Linked DNA regions of Homo sapiens: region 2 is linked to region 1. The links are contacts of gene promoters, found by promoter capture Hi-C in human tissues and cell types (Jung and others, 2019). All regions are on one chromosome and are shown on one strand. The core of a region is centred on a gene start or on the middle of the fragment in contact, and the rest is flanking DNA. Distances in the headings are between cores, read along the strand shown. Region 1 holds the start of LRRC20 (leucine rich repeat containing 20). Region 2 overlaps EIF4EBP2 (eukaryotic translation initiation factor 4E binding protein 2).

Region 1 (2,700 bases), core at 90-2,589:
AGTAGGTAATCAAACAGGTGTAGAGAGGAAGTTTGGATGTAATAAATTCAATGCCAGACAAAAACGTTGTCCTGCTTTGGGGGAGCTGGCAATACAGCCCTCCTGTCCCTATAACCTGGTTTCACCTGGACTCAGGCTGGCTGGGGGAGGGGTGATTTTTGCTTAAACCCTGACCTGGCCCCCTGACTCCAGCCCTTACCATCAATAACTCTACCTTATCTGCAGTCCGGAGACCTCTGCAAAGGAGCCGCTGCGACAGCCCGTCCCCACCATCTGCTCCTATATTTAGTTACTGGTGTTGTCAGTTGGGAACGTTAGAGCCTGGCAGGGGCTCGGATGGGCAACCGGAGCCTCCGGAGCCATGTGTGCAAGCTGGCCCTACCGCTGGCTCCAGCCCGGGCTCTGGACCATGCCAAGCCGGGGAGCGGGTGGGGAGGTGAGGAGCGACCCAAATAGTCCCAAACCCCCCTTCAGATCAGAACGAAGTTGACCCACTTCCCCACCCCAGGGAAAGAAGCCCGCTGGGACGTGAGCGGGACCTGCTGGCGCCTTGTTTTTGTGGCATGGGGTTCGGGAAGCTCAGCGCGTGCTCCCTCGCTAACATCTAGGCATCCTCGGACTGAGCCTCCAGCACTACGCGCGGTAGCCAGGCAAGGGTCCCCCAGCCCCGCGTGCCAGGATCCGCCTCACCCCCGGTGCCTGCAGCCAATGGCACCTCGTCCGCTGGCCCGGCAGGCGGGGACTGGGAGAATAAAGCTGGCAGAGGGAAGAATGGTAGTGATCGCAGAGGCCCCGGGGCTCCCACGCTGCCCGGAGGCCGAGAGGCACGCTCTGGAGCAGGCGTCTGCAGCTCCCCAGAGCGGAAGCAAACCCCGAAAGTGTCGCTTCGGGGACGAAATGCACAGCAGCCTCTCCAAGCAAGGGCGCCTCCCGCGAGGAATGGAGGCCCGCCTGGGAGCGGTTCTCCGAGCTCCCTATTCCCTGGCACCTCTGCACCCACTCCCCTGAACCATCGGGGTCCAGGTGCAGTGAGCAAGCAAGAGCCCGCGCATGCCGAGCCCCTTGGCACCGCCAGAGCCTCCGCTGGTGCACCGCTGCTCTTTTCCACCGGGTGACCTGGGGGAGGGGAGGGGACGCTGCAAAAATCGGAACACTTCTCGCCCTCTCTCCCCCAGCCCCTGCAACGCTTGACCTCGGACTACATTTACTTTGCGGGGCAAGAAGCGTGTGGTCCCGCTCCGGGCCGCTTTTGGCTCCACTTACGGCGACAATGCCTCCTAGCGCCCTGCGCAGCGCAGTCACGCTCCCTCCGCCGCCGGCGGCGCCCCAGGCGAGTTCCGAGCCGGCGGGGCGGGGCGCGCGGGGCTGCGGGATCTGCGCGCGCGGCCACTCCGCCAATCCCGGCGCCAGGACCGGCGCCGCGGCGGGAGCAGGCTGGGCTCGGGATGCGCTCAGCCAATCAGTGGGGGAGCGGCGCGCGCGGGGGTGGCGCGCGGAAGGGCAGCCCGCGCGCTCCCGGCCGCAGGGAGTAACCGCTTTGTGTGCTGCTTCTAGAGGGAGAACGCCTGAGGGGGCGGAGATACAGAGTGGGACGCGCAGTACATCCCAGGATCTCTAGGACCGGGGCTCCAGATTGGGTTTTCTCGAGGGAATGGAGTTGAATTAGCCAGATCAGGGATACTTTGAAACACGTGAACATGGAGCATAGGGAAATTTTCCTATGATGACTTCGGGTGCCCATTGAGGTTTTTAGTATATGCAAGGCCCTGTGTCTCGGCCCTGCGTCTCCAATCCTAATGTTCTCATCTATAAAATATGACTTGAGGGCGGGGCGCGGCGACTCACGCCTGTAATCCCAGCACTTTGGGAGGCCGAGGTAGACGGATCACCTGAGGTCGGGAGTTCGAGACCAGCCTGGCCAACATGGCAAAACCCCCGTCTCTACTAAAAATACAAAAATTAGCCGGGCGTGGTGGCAGGCGCCTGTAGCCGCAGCTACTCGGGATGCTGAGGCAGGAGAATCGCTTGAACCCGGGAGGCGGAGGTTGCAGTGAGCCGAGATGGGCACTCCAACCTGAGTGGACAGAGTGAGACTCTGTCTCAAAGAAAAAAAAAAGAATATTTAATTCCGCCTCTAGGGGGTCTAGGCAGTCAAAGAACACACATTCCCTTGGGCCTCGATGGATGTTAAGGGTTACTTATGCCCTCTCCACCCCCAACAATATGTTAAAGTTCATCAGAATGTGATCTTATTTGGAAGTAGGGCCGTTGCAGATGTAATGAGTTAAGGTCATGCTGGAGTAGGGCGGGCCCCTAATCCACTGAGACTGGTGTCGTTGTAAGAGAAGAGACACAGAAGAGACGCACAGGGAGAACCACCTGTGGTGATGGCGGCAGGGATCAGCTGATGCATTTCCAAGGCCAGGAGTGCCAAGCACTGCCAGCAGGGACCAGAAGCTAGGAACGGGCAGGGAATAATTCCTCCTTCAGAGCCTCCAAAAAGGAACTAACCCTCCAGACACCTTGATTTTGGACTTAATAGCTTCCAGAGCTGTAAGTGAATAAATTTCTGTTGCCACCCAGTTTATGTCCATTTGTTATAGCAGCCCTAGGAAAAAACTACAATAGGTTAGTAGGAATAAAGAGAAGAGGATGATAAATATCTCCAAAGTAAGTCTTTTGAAACTGATTGCTTAGTAT
Region 2 (2,712 bases), core at 21-2,520, 35 kb after region 1:
GGGACTATAGGCATGCAACACCACGCCTGGCTAATTTTTGTATTTTTTTTTAAGAGACGGGATTTTGCCATGTTGCCCAGGCTGGTCTTGAACTTGTGAGGTCAAGTAATACACGTTGGCCTCCCAAAGTGCTGGGATTACAGGTGTGAGCCATGCCTGGCTAATTCCACTTTTTTAGTTTGGTATATACCCAAGAGAATGGAAATGTGTTCACATGAAAACTTGTACGTGAATGTTATTCATAATAGACAAAAAGTGGAAACAACCCATTTATCAGTTGATGGACTTGTTTTTATCGACTTACCAGTCCATCAACTGATAAATTGATAAGGTGCGATATATACATACAATGAAATATTTGGTAATGAAAAAGAAATGAGGTACTGATAAATGCTACAACATAAATGAACTTTGAAGACATTATGAAAGTGAAAGAAGCAGTCACAAAAGACTGTATTGTATGATTCCATTTATATGAAATGGCCAGAGTAGGTAAAACTATATAGAGACAGAAAGTAGATTAGTGGTTGCCTAGGGTCAGAGGGTGTGGGGAGATCAGGTGGCATCTAAGGGGTTGGGGGAGGTTATGGGGGTAATGAAAGGGTTCTAAAATTGATTATGGTGATGATTGTACAGTCCTGCGAATCAACTAAAACTATTGAATTATACACTGTAAGTGGATCAATTGTAAATGAATGCTATTTCAATAAACTTGTAAAATACCGTATCTTATCAGCTCTTTAAGGTCATAGAGGTTCTTCAGAGTTTCTCTTATACCTCACACATTTAGGCAGAATCTCCACTACCTATATCCTAGTTGGTTTAATTGCAATTCTTTAATGTATGCGTTGTTGCTGATACATAATTTAGAAAGCTTGCTTCTGTGCTGTGCTTTTTTCACCACCTCATCTCCACAATTTCCAAGCTTGATGTACTACAGAAGTAAGAATAATCTTGTTCCAGTTTGCAAGTTGACTCATCTGACAGTGAAACCTCACCCTTCTGAAATCTCATCATGAACAAAAGTGGGGTAACTCAAACAGATAGGCAAAGTCCATTGTTAAAGCTCCTTCCCTTTGTTCATTGGAAGGCCATCAGACCCCCTTTCAGCCTATTTGCCCTTATTTTACATAGCATGCTAATAAGCAAGTTGCTGATTTCCAAACCCACCAGACTAGAAACACCAAGTTAGAAAGGGTGTTAAGGGTGTGCTATACAGATTGAATTGTGTCTCCCCAAAATTCTTATGTTGAAACCTTAATTCCCAACATGATAGTATTAGGAGGTGGTGCCTTTGGGAGTTAATTAGGCTGAGTTGAGGTCATAAAGGTGGGACCCTCATGATGGGATTTGTGCCCTTATAAGATGGAACACCACAGAGTTGAGGCCCCCTTACCCCCATGTAAGGGACACAAAGAGAAGGCAGCTACCTACAAGCCAGGAAGAGAGCCCTCACCAGAAACCATCCATGCTGGCATCTTAGTGTTGGACTTCTAGCCTCCAGAACTATGAGACAATTTCTGTTGTTTAAGTTGTGCAGTCTGTGGTATTTTGTTATGGCAGCCTAAGCTGACTGAGTCATAGTAGTAGCCTGGAAAAAAGGTAGCTCTTAGTCTAAGGGGACAAGGGCACTGTGGGGGAGGGGTGCACCAGCACAACTTTGACCATCCGAACTCTGTATAGTGATGTTCAGCTGTACAGAGCACCAACTTGATAGGGCTTAGAGACTTCTTAGGTCACAACATAGTATAATAAACAATTTTCATAATACTGTGATTCATCAAGAGGGTTGAATCATTTTCTGTTGAAGGCCATAAAGGGATTTAAATCTGTATTAGAAGTATTTTCATTCAAGATAATTGAAATTGTTTACCCTTTGAAAGTTGAACTAAGTTTTGTGCTACCCAGAATGCCTCGTTCCTCATAATTTCTAGATGCCTTTTTGAGTGCTACTCTAGTTTTTGTTTTTCAAAGCAAAGAGGTTGAAGGTAAGTTTCTACTTTCCTTGTCCTAAAATTATATTTGATTTACATTTTGAGGCAGGATCTTGCTCTGTTGCCCAGGCTGGAGTGCAGTGGTGCAGTCATAGCTCACTGTAGCCTCGAACTCCTGGACTCAAGCTATTCTCCTGGCTCAACCCCCGAGTAGTAGGGACTTCAGACCAACAGCACCTCACTTGGCTCTTTTTAAAATAATTTTTTTAGAGACAGGGTCTCACTATGTGGCCCAGACTAGACTCAGACTCCTGGGCTCAAGCAGTCCTCCTGCCTTGGACTCCCAAACTGTTGGAATTACAGGCATGAGCCACCATGCCCAGGCTCTCTTGTCTTTTTGATAATAGCCATCCTAAGAGATGTGAAGTGATATCTCATTGTCGTTTTGATTTGCATTTCCTTGATGATTAGTGATGTCGAGCACCTTTTAATGTACCTGTTGACCATTTGTAAGCAGCACGTTTCCATAACTGTTTATCAGTTAAAGTGTACTCTTCAAAACTATTGTTTTTAAAACATTCAGGTAGCACTTAACTGGTAAGCAGATTGTTTTGTAGAATAGAGAGGGGCTGCCAGTTTCAGCTTTGACTATAGCTGTGAGAAGAATGTTAGTCTCAGTCCTTCTTTGGAAAGCCTTTAAAAGGGGCTGTTTATTTTTTCTCATACTTGTTTATTCTTTCATTTAAAACTTTTTTTTTCTTAAAGATGTTAATGTTAG

The links. Contacts are between HindIII fragments. The study calls those that stand out against the background at their distance.
Region 2: a contact is called between a fragment that was not itself captured here and the fragment with the promoter of LRRC20 in region 1, in 1 of the 25 tissues and cell types used here (mesendoderm cells).

Annotation. Positions count from the first base shown.
Region 1 is chr10:70,381,286-70,383,985 of GRCh38, forward strand. It overlaps LRRC20 (leucine rich repeat containing 20), which reads right to left and starts at 1,340. Exons shown (of 5, transcript NM_001278212.2): 1 at 1,264-1,340. RefSeq lists enhancers at 551-1,170, 1,015-1,214, 1,745-1,844 and a silencer at 1,245-1,614. The HindIII fragment of the contact is 15,501 bases long and covers 1-2,700 here.
Region 2 is chr10:70,416,798-70,419,509 of GRCh38, forward strand. All of the region lies in intron 1 of EIF4EBP2 (eukaryotic translation initiation factor 4E binding protein 2), which reads left to right. Among named protein-coding and RNA genes, the nearest start is that of EIF4EBP2, 14 kb to the left of the region's middle. The HindIII fragment of the contact is 5,600 bases long and covers 1-2,712 here.